Linked DNA regions of Homo sapiens: all the other regions are linked to region 1. The links are contacts of gene promoters, found by promoter capture Hi-C in blood cells and fetal thymus (Javierre and others, 2016). All regions are on one chromosome and are shown on one strand. Each heading gives the region's core, a stretch centred on a gene start or on the middle of the fragment in contact. The rest is flanking DNA. Distances are from core to core; before and after follow the strand shown.

Region 1 (3,447 bases), core at 244-2,743:
ATGCATTTAATCAATGACATTCTTGACATTTTTGTGAAGAGCATTTATTTGATACTTAATTTTTCTTTTTTTTTTTTTGAGACAGGGTCTTGCTGTGTCACCCAGGGTGGAGTGTGGTGGGGCAGTCATGGCTTACTGCAGTCTCCACCCCCTTGGCTCAAGTGATTCTTCCACCTCAGCCTCCTTAGTAGCTGGAACTACAGGTGCACACCACCATACCCAGCCAATTTTTAAAATTCTTGTAGAGACAGAGGTCTCACTTTGTTGCCCAGGCTGGTCTCAAACTCCTGGCCTCAAGTGATTAAATTTTTAAAATAATGTATTTTTTCTTTATTTTTCCAATTTATATAAAAATGGAAATATTTTTTATTATTCATTAACGTTGGGTAACACTTTATATAAACTTTCCCTTTGTGTTATATGGAAGTCTAAATTTACAGAATACTTTAAAACCCCACGGCAACACAAAACCCACATTTGTCCGTGTTCCTTCCATAATTTGAAAACTTTGCCTTTTTCCCTTACACTGACTTGAAGCCTGGCAGCTTGGGCCTAATTTACAAGGCACTAAGTAAGTACTCTCTTAAAAAACAGAGAGTGAGGATGCCCTGTTTCACAACTTAATTCCAAAAAGCCAAGTCAGACGAAATCGACCCACTTTCCTGCTAAGGGTTTGTCCCAAGAGGCGAGCTCTTCTCTGTCCGCTCCAGCCAAGCTGGCCGATTGCCCCTGAGCACTGGACACAACCTTGGTGTCCCGGTTTCGGGTCAGGGTTACTTTCCAATTGTTAGGCACGACTTTGTGCGTGCGTGCGAGACTGTGGACTCGGAGGTGCGCATTTGGGGCGTAGCCGAGCCATTTAAACCAGCGAATCCGCGTTCACCTTGTCCTTCCACCTCTGCCCTATCTCGGCAGATGCTCCACGGATTTGCACGAACTCCCGAGTCTTGACCTCCCTCCCCTCTCCGGGCTGCCGGGACAACTCGGGGCGGCCACTCTTGCCAGGAGGCGTAAGTAAGGATGAAGTTGGAAAAACTGAACTAGGTCTAGGGCACGCTCTGCAACACAGTCGGGGAGACGCTTCAGAGGGCCGGAGAGGGAGGCAAGTTGCCACGGCGCGAAGGGGGCGGGCCGGCTTGGGCCGCTCGCATTTCCTGTGACAGGGGCTGCCCCAGCCTCTCCTTCTCCCGCGGCGGCGGGACCATTTCCTGAATCGCTGAAGCGGAGGGAGGACTAGGGCGCGACTCTACCATTAGCGCAAAGGGCCAGGGGGTGCCCATAAGGAGAGCTCGGGGGATGCAGGGACGGTCAAGAAAGTTCGGCCAGGGCTAGGGGTCCCCCAGAGTGCGCAGAAGCGAGACATCCCTGGCCAGAGTGCCTCCTTCAGGCCTGCCCCGCCGCCCGTCCGCTTGGCCCCGGAGCATCCCCCCTCCCCGCATTCCCGAGGTGGTTCAGCCCGAGAGGCCGGCGTCTCTCCCCCAGTTTGCCGTTCACCCGGAGCGCTCGGGACTTGCCGATAGTGGTGACGGCGGCAACATGTCTGTGGCTTTCGCGGCCCCGAGGCAGCGAGGCAAGGGGGAGATCACTCCCGCTGCGATTCAGAAGGTGAAACCGCGCGGGGTTGCGGATGCCAGGCCCTTACCGCCTCTGGGAGAGACAGACGCGGGGGGAAGGGCCGGGCCCGGAGTCGACCGGGCCGAGGCGGAGGCGGGCCTGCTGGGAATCAGCAGTGTTTGGGAACACGGACTGCTGGCTGTGCCTGAGTGGGTGGCGGAAGAGGGTGAACCGGTTTTTCTCGGAGTCTTTCACGCATTTACGCGTTTTTCTACAGACACAAAAGCCCAAACAGCCGCCGCCTGATTTCTCTAGGGATGGGGCGGCGTTCGGGCTGCGGGGCGCGTGCGCCCGGCGGCGGCCGCTCAGGGAAGGGCGTGTGTCGGACCGGCGGCCCCGCGCGTTGCTCCGGAGTTACTTTGGCGTCGCCCCGCCCCGCGTGCCGCGGCTGCTTCGTGCGGACCCCACCGCGGGTCGCGGCAGGCAGAGGGGAAGTCGGTGCGCTGGTCGCCGCCCTGCAAACTCAGCCGAGTTTGGGAGCTCGCAGGAGGACTTGGGGAACGCTGGAGGGAACCTTAGTATAGAGTTTGAGGAGCGGGCAAGGAAGGTCCCCATGGACTCTGGGGTTGTCCCCAGAGCCTCTTCTTCCCTTCTGCATCGCCGCCTATTCATTTATTCTGCAGCAAATATTTATTGAGCGCCTATTTTAGGCGCTGAGGCTACTGTGGTGAGTCATGGTCCTTGCCTTCCTGGAGCTTACAGTCTAATGGTGGAGACTGTCGTGACCAGTTAATGTAAGTCGTGATAAATACACAGGGAGCTGCCTCCTTTTTAAAGGATAGAGCTGCTGCAGTCGCTGCTGTGTTACTGCCAGTCGGAACACAAAGGTTCTTTATTGTCCTCTACCCCTTGTTGCCTGCAAGCAAGGCAGCATTCTAAATTTTACTGACCTAGACTTTCAGAAGTTGCTGCTGTATTTAGCAGTTTACTTTAAATATTTTTGTTTTGTTTTATGCTGTGTAGCAAAGATCAAAATAGAAAAAAAGGTCAAGTTTTAGTACCACTCAGACCACGTAGATTATGCTAATCGGTTTCTGTTTACTGTCAGGTTCTTCGTAGTGTGGCTTTTGACATTTGCCCAACTGTTGCTTTATTTTATGAACAAACGGGCTTGGCAGTGCCTGGAAATGCAGTGCTTTCATATAGTGCTCTGAGTTAAGTCTGCAGCCTGGCAAACAGCTCCAAGTACGCACTCACGCAAAACTGCGTTTCTGGAGGGCTCACCTTTTTTATTTTTGTACACAGGAAAAGTCCAGAGTTTTTCTTTTTTTTTTATAGTTTCTGTTACATAAGTCTGAAGATATTTATCATGGATAATGATTAATTCGGAGGATGCTGATCAATTATTTTCCATTCTCAGCTGAACAGAAAAATGGGCTCTAAATTAATTGCCTTATTCTACAATGGGAGAGATTGATATTAGATGTGAGACAGATATTTTAATGGTGAAGTTCAATAGTTTGAGGAATATACTGGAGATAATAAGTTGTGAAATCATTAGGTTGAGGACTGGATTCGTGCTTTTTAAGGACTTTTTTTGGTCATCCAATGGTTCTATTTAAGAAATAACTGCATTTATTAGCAGATCATGTTAGTGGTTTTTTTTTTCCCCCAGTAAGTGAAGATTATGATTCACGTGCATAAAAAAGTGACAGTTAATGTTAAATGGATGTTCCTTTTATTTAGATTGCGTGATTATGGTATTGTGCTAATACTTTTGAATACTGGTAGGGTGGGGCAGGTTCTGGAGGAGCATATCCTGAGTCCCTTGATCTTACAGCTGAATCAGCCCCTGAAAACTTAAGTGACTTGCTCAAAATGGCAAAACTGGCA
Region 2 (3,447 bases), core at 225-2,724, 1.7 Mb after region 1:
AGGGGAAATGATACTGTTTTAGAACCGACAATTAGGTTGAAGAATACAGCCAGTCTTTTTTGAGTAATAACATGGCACAATGCCGGTTAAATATTAATACATTACAAATTTTCTCCTTGTGGCTTTATTTTACTCAGAGATACATCTGTATATCTGATCATAATATTTTTAAGTGGAACTGTGTCAGTTTCTTACCTCTTGACATTACTGGAAGCTGAGCTTTTATACATCATATGTTTTCATTGAGAAAAGTAGTAGGCAGAAAGTAGAAATCAGCCAAATGAATAACTTAGTGGAGAAGAGAGAATATGATATCAAGTGCGTGTGAGAAACTTGATATCCTTCAGAACCTTGTCAGTTCTTCCAAGCTGAGTCTGAACTTTGGCAATCAGAGCTTTTTTGATGACCTAGCAAGTTCTCTGAATTTCCTAGAAAGAGGACAGGTTTTAGCACTGCAGTCACCAGCTTATACTAACAATTCATGAAGTTTAAGAAAAGACACTGTCAGGTAATCTGTATAGTGTATGTATATTTATGATTGTGGTGTCATATAAGTATCTTATGTGATGTTCTTGGTCTCTAGAAATGTTTTTCCTCACGTGGCCTCTGCCACTAATTCTGTGTTGGTACTGTCAGTATTAAGGGGGCTGTGTGAGGTGGGCTAGTATAAGAAATAGTTTTAATGCTATTACTAGGAAGATAAACTAGGTCGCTCACTTTACTTTTATTTATCAGCCTGCAAGTAGGAAATTACTGTATAGTGAAAGCAGTCTTTAACTGTACAATTTCGTATCATGTGACAATGGAAAGTAACCACATGTTTTTACTTTGTGTTTAAAGTTTTTCTTTAAAGAGGTATTTCTGTGATGCATAAATGGTCAGTATTATTATACATGAGTTTAATTGAGTTTGAAAGATAATTTTCAAATGTGAAATAATTGAAATGGGAAAATTTTAATGCATTTTTCTAAAATTTAGGGAATTTTGTCATTAAAAGGTAACAATCAGCCTCCTTGCTAGGATTTTTATTACTAAACTTGATTTGTTAAATTTGTAGGGTTCTCTGCTCTTCATACCTGCTCTGTTTTGAAACAGTAGTAAATAGTTTTCAGAATCTGTCAAATTGAAGTTCAAATCAGGGGTGCATCTAGGAATTAGTGCTTAATTGTTAAAGCAGCTAAAATTATAGCACCAAAGTTATTTTAAACAACTTCATTAAGCAAAGCTATGAAGCTTATTTAATTTTTACTAATTTTAAGAAACATTAAAATTTCCAACCGAATATGGGTAAGATAAATACCTGGTGATATGGTTGGTTTTTTATTATGTCCGTATGGTATCCAAGTTGGTGTGGGTATGGAATGGATATGAATAAGAGAAGGTAATGTAAATTTATCAAATATAAAGTAAATAATAATTTGGTATAAACATTTTATGATTTCAATGCTTTATAAACCATTAGATGACACATAATTGTGGCCAATTCTCCATCATTTCTCCTGTGGGAGATGAATGCTTTTTATTAGGGCACAAAAACTTATTGAGGAAGTTAGAGAAAAAGTTTCACTGAATTAAAAATTAAGTGATTAAAATTTTGTCTTATAACTTAAAACGATACAGGTTAGTGCTTCCCAAAATAGGCTTTATAATTTGCTCCTGTTTTCCTTAAATTGCCATGTTTTAGGTATTCTTTTCAGTTAATAAATAAAGCTTTTTAAAATGAGGCACTCAAAACATAATTCAGATTCAAATTCCTCAGTGCTTACACAGGAACACTAATGAGAATCAATGGCATTTAACTTTTGCAGCTGAATTGAATTTTATAAAATACATAGCAATGCCAGGTGCAGTGGCTCACACCTGTAATCCCAGCACTTTGGGAGGCCGAGATGGGCGGATCACGAGGTCAGGAGATGGAGACCATCCTGGCTAACACAGTGAAACCCCGGCTCTACTAAAAACTACAAAAAATTAGCCAGGCGTGGTGGCGGGCAGCTGTAGTCCCAGCTACTTGGGAGGCTGAGGCAGGAGAATGGTGTGAACCCGGGAAGAGGAGCTTGCAGTGAGCGGAGATCGTGCCACTGCACTCCAGCCTAGGCGACAGAGCGAGACTCCGTCTCAAAAAAAATAAAAATAAAAATAAATAAATAAAAATAAAATACGTTGCATTATTTCACCCCTTCTACATTCTGGCTGTGACTCTACTGTTAATACTTGGCAAGTAACTTTGCCTTTGGGCTTTTCAGTTGCTTCAGCTCTAGAATCAGAGTGTTAGATTAATGAATTCGTTTACCAATGTTCAGTTTCTAAAACAAGCAAAAAATGCATTTGTTTATGTCATCACAAATGTCAGTTTTCTGTATACATAATATGTGTATCTATGCACATGTGTGCATAATGTATACACATGTACATACATGTAGGTATATGATTGCATCAGAGAAATTACTGATTGCTAGCAACTAATCATAGTTAGAGCAAATAAGTATTTTTTTTTTGCCATTGCCATGTTTTTATGTAGTTACTTTAATCTTTAATACCTTGCTGGTATTAAAAGAATATAACGTCAGGAGAAAACACACCATTAAGCAGCTAACTACAGGCTGGGCGAGGTGGCTCATGCCTGTAATTCCAGCACGTTGGAAGGCAAGGCAGGATAATTCCTTAAGGCCAGGAGTTCGAGACCAGCCTGGGCAATGTAGCCAGACCACATCTCTATAAAAGATACAAAAATTAGCTGGGTATGGTGGCGTGCACCTGTGGTCCCAGCTACTCAGGAGGCCAAGATGGGAGGATTGCTTGAGTCCAGGAGTTTGAGGCTGCAGTGAGCCACGATTGTGCCACTGCACTCCATCCTGGGCAATTGACTGAGACCCTGTTTCAAAAAAGCAGCTAACTACTTTGGAGCGCAGGGCTAAGCACGGTACTGGTTTTTATGTTTTTAAGATTTAGTTTATAGGATGTGTTTGTTCATAGACATTTAATTTTTCTCATTCAAATTTCTAGCATACAATGTATTTTAAATATTAATGTAACATTCATAAAATCAGTATCTGAGAATTTAAAAACTAATCGCAACATATATTTTTAATAATTTTTGAATAGTCTCCCTTTGTCTTTATTAGAGTATAGGGCCGGGTGTGGTGGCTCACGCCTGTAATCTCAGCACTATGGGAGGCCGAGGTGGGCAGATCACCTGAAGTCAGGAGTTTGAGACCAGCCTGACCAACATGGAGAAACCCCATCTCTACTAAAAATATAAAATAGCCAGGCATGGTGGCACATGCTTGTAATCCCTGCTACTCGGGAGGCTGAGGCAGGAGAATCACTTGAACCCGGGAGGCGGAGGTTGCGGTGAACCGAGATGGCGCCATTGCACTCCAGCATGGGAAACAAGTGAAACTCCATCTCAAAAATAAAAAGAGTACAAATGCTGGCTGGATGCAG
Region 3 (3,447 bases), core at 361-2,860, 1.7 Mb after region 1:
CTTTTGGGAGACAGGACTCCTCTGATGGGGTGCTTGGGCTCCACGCCTTGCTGAACTTTCCTTAGAAAAACTGCCGCACAACCTTCCTCTACTTCTTCTTCTTTTTATTTTTTATTTCTTAGAGACAGGATCTCTGTCGCCTGGGCTGGAGTGCAGTGGTGGGAATCATAGCTCGCTGTGGCCTCAATTTCCAGGGCTTAATTAATTCTCCCACCTCAGCACCCCCAAGTAGCTGGGACTACAGGCACACGCTACCACACCAGGCTAATTTTTTGATTTGTTTTAGAGTGGAGGTCTCACTATGTTGCCCAGGCTGGTCTCAAACTCCTGGGCTCAAGCGATCCTCCTGCCTCAGCCTCCCAAAGTACTGGGATTACAGGCGTGAGCCACAGCGAAGGCCCTTTCCTCTACTTGTTTCTCAACATTCACTCAGGATCAGATTAGTATCGGTGTGATGGTTCTCTGAGCCTCTTCAAGTTCCTTCCCAATTTTCTACAGGCATTTCCCCTAACACATTTCTTGCATATTTAACTTCATTTTGGTATCTTCCTCTCCAAGAAGACTAGAACAAACTGCTCTAGGATACACTGTAACACAGGCAAATTCTGTCCATATGGTTTTGTTAAAATAATTAATTGGGAGGCCATGAGGCTAAGACAGTTCCATTGCCTTGTGTTTCTGAGTAAGCAAACAGAAATAGAACTCAGTGTAAACTTAAGCTTAACCAATCAGAAACCACTAAGTGACATCTAACTAGGGACTTTCTAGTTTAAGCCATCAAATATTTTCTTTATCTTGCTTCTGCAAACACCTTAGAAAAATTTCTCCCTCCCACCAATTTAGTGGAGTGTTGAACTGTTTGAGCTCTGGTGCTGCGTGATTCATGAATAGCTTCATTCTCAAACTCGTGACAATTTTAATGTGTTTATCTTTTAACAATATTAACTTACAATATTATCTGGTTCTGAAATATTTTTCTTAGGGAAATATGTCCTCAAAATATTTTAGAAACAAAACACAAACCATCTTAGTACACAATGATCTTTTCCCTCCTGTTCTCTGTGTGTTTACCTTAGCTCCCAGACAATGAAAGCCAAAATATAGCTGACTACAAGGACAATGAATGCTGAGGCTCTTCCTTCTCTTTGTGCTGTTCATTTGCTTACTCAATAATTTGACCCACTATGGCTGAAGATTAAAATACTGGATATTAAACTATAAGTTTTATGGAGAAGTTCTTGTCAAAGAAGTAATCAAGGAAACAGAGTCAATGTCAAGCAAGCAATTAGGGGAGAGAGAAAATCCTTTAATATTATAATTTCACCATAAGTAACACTGTATCCTGGGAAGATTAGCTGATAATTGTATAAACATAGTTAGAAAAAAATAATAGAGCCTGGCCTGGCATGGTGGCTCATGCCTGTAATCCCAGCACTTTGGGAGGCCGAGGCGGGCGGATCACTTGAGGTCGGGAGTTCAAGACCAGCCTGGCCAACATGGTGAAACCCCATCTCTACTAAAAATACAAAAATTAGCCAGGCATGGTGGCGTGTGTCTGTAATCCCAAATACTCTGGAGGCTGAGGCAGGAGAATCCGGGAGGCGGAGGTTGCAGTGAGCTGAGATCCCACCACTGCACTCCTGTCTGGGTGACAGAGCGAGACTCTGTCTCAAATAAATAAATAAATAAAATAATGGAGCCAGAGGCATTTCCTGACTTCAGGAGATTTGAAGGGAATGGAAGAGTGGCATCTCAGGTGTTATGTTAGAGTTCACCTAGAGAGGAACTGTGCTGTGTGGTAGGGACCCTGTTACACCACCTCCAGTCAGCACCCCCTTTTCAGAAACAGGTACTCCTATCCCCCAAGCAGTTTTGCAAGTACTTCATTGACCGCTACGGCAGGTTTGTTTCCCCAGTAACAGCATGTTCAAACAAGTGTTCCACAGTAATTCATCCGCCTGTAATCCTAGCACTTTGGGAGGCCAATGCAGGTGGATCACTTGAGCTCAGGAGTTTGAGACCAGCCTGGGCAACATGGTGAAACTTCATCTCTACAAAAAACACAAAAATTAGCTGGGCGTGGTGGCTCATGCCTCTAGTCCCAGCTACTTGGGGGGCTGAGGCGGAAGGATCAATTGAGCCCAGGAGGAGGAGGTTGCAGTGAGCCAAGATTGCTCCATTGTACTCCAGCCTGGGCAACAGAGTGAGACTCTGTCTCAAAAAAAGAATTAAATCTGATCTTTTTATTTTTTCATTTTCAAGAAGCATCTTCTTAATGAATAAACTTCTAGAAGGGATAGTTACAAGTTCTTTTGTTAATTATTCATTGAAACTTTAGCAAGGATTGGGTTATAGCCAACGGAGAACAGGTTCTTGGGTGGGAGTGGGAGTGGGTAAAGCCAGAGATAAGCCTTCCTCAGCACCATGCACCCTTAACTGCCACACTTGACTTCCTTACCTCTTTACGTGACATCTCAAATTTTTTCCCTCCAGAAGCTTTTTTGACTAAAAGTAGAAAATGGCCGTATGATTAGCTTCCCCATAACCTCAAAATCAATATTCAGAGGAGATGTGTGTGAAGTCAAAATTGTTGGTTAAGAAATACAAGTTATTTGCTTTTCCCTTTTGCCTCTGAGTGGAATGTTCTTCCCTTAAATCTTCAAATGGCCGTCGTGTGTGTGTGTTTGTGTGTGTGTGTGTCAGTCTCACTCTCACACAGGCTGGAGTGCAGTGACCTGATCTTGGCTCACTGCAACCTCTGCCTCCTGAGCTCAAGTGATTCTTGGGCCTCAGCCTCTCAAGTAGCTGGGATTACAGGTGCTCACCACCACGCCTGGCTAATTTTTGTATGTTTAATAGAGATAGTGTTTCACCGTGATAGCCAGGCTGGTCTCAAACTCCTGATCTCAGGTGATCCGCCCGCCTCGGCCTCCCAAAGTCCTAGGATTGCAAGTGTAAGCCACTGCTCCCGGCCTTTATTTTATTTTATTGTTTTTTTGGACAGTCTGACTCTGTTGCCCAGGCTGGAGTACAGTGGCACAATCTCGGCTCACTTCAACCTCTGCTTCCCAGGTTCAAAAGATTCCCCTGCCTCAGCCTCCCAAGTAGCTGGGACTACAGGCATGTGTCATCACACCTGGCTAATTTTTGTATTTTTAGTGGAGACAGGGTTTCACCATGTTGGCCAGGCTGGTCTCAAACTCCCGGCCTCAAGTGATCCACCCATCTTGGCCTCCCAAAGTGCTAGGATTACAGATGTGCGCCACTGCACCCAACCCAAATGGCCATCTCTTTACCTTTCACTTTTTAACACAATGTTACCTCCTTATCAAAGATTTTCCTGGTCACCCTAACTAAAGGCTTCTTCCCCTCTCCCCCTTGTTGATGCTGTCAGAGCAAAGGGAAAGCTACCCCTTCACCCTCTGAAAGTTTGCTGAAAAATCAACT

What was found. Contacts are between HindIII fragments. The CHiCAGO score rates a contact against its expected background, and 5 or more counts as called.
Region 2: a fragment that was not itself captured here is called in contact with the fragment with the promoter of SS18 in region 1 in 2 of 17 cell types (non-activated CD4 T cells and total B cells); the score reaches 5.8 in non-activated CD4 T cells.
Region 3: a contact is called between a fragment that was not itself captured here and the fragment with the promoter of SS18 in region 1, in 2 of 17 cell types (non-activated CD4 T cells and naive CD8 T cells). The highest score is 7.5, in non-activated CD4 T cells.

What each region holds. Positions count from the first base shown.
Region 1 is chr18:26,088,659-26,092,105 of GRCh38, reverse strand. SS18 (SS18 subunit of BAF chromatin remodeling complex) reads left to right here and starts at 1,493. Exons shown (of 11, transcript NM_001007559.3): 1 at 1,493-1,605. The coding sequence starts at 1,537. RefSeq lists an enhancer at 1,039-1,158. The HindIII fragment of the contact is 4,894 bases long and covers 1-3,447 here.
Region 2 is chr18:24,392,144-24,395,590 of GRCh38, reverse strand. The region is part of intron 1 of OSBPL1A (oxysterol binding protein like 1A); the gene reads left to right. The region is part of intron 2 of LOC124904268 (a long non-coding RNA gene); the gene reads right to left. Among named protein-coding and RNA genes, the nearest start is that of OSBPL1A, 4.0 kb to the left of the region's middle. The HindIII fragment of the contact is 477 bases long and covers 1,236-1,712 here.
Region 3 is chr18:24,419,223-24,422,669 of GRCh38, reverse strand. No RefSeq gene overlaps it. Among named protein-coding and RNA genes, the nearest start is that of IMPACT, 5.7 kb to the left of the region's middle. The HindIII fragment of the contact is 1,777 bases long and covers 722-2,498 here.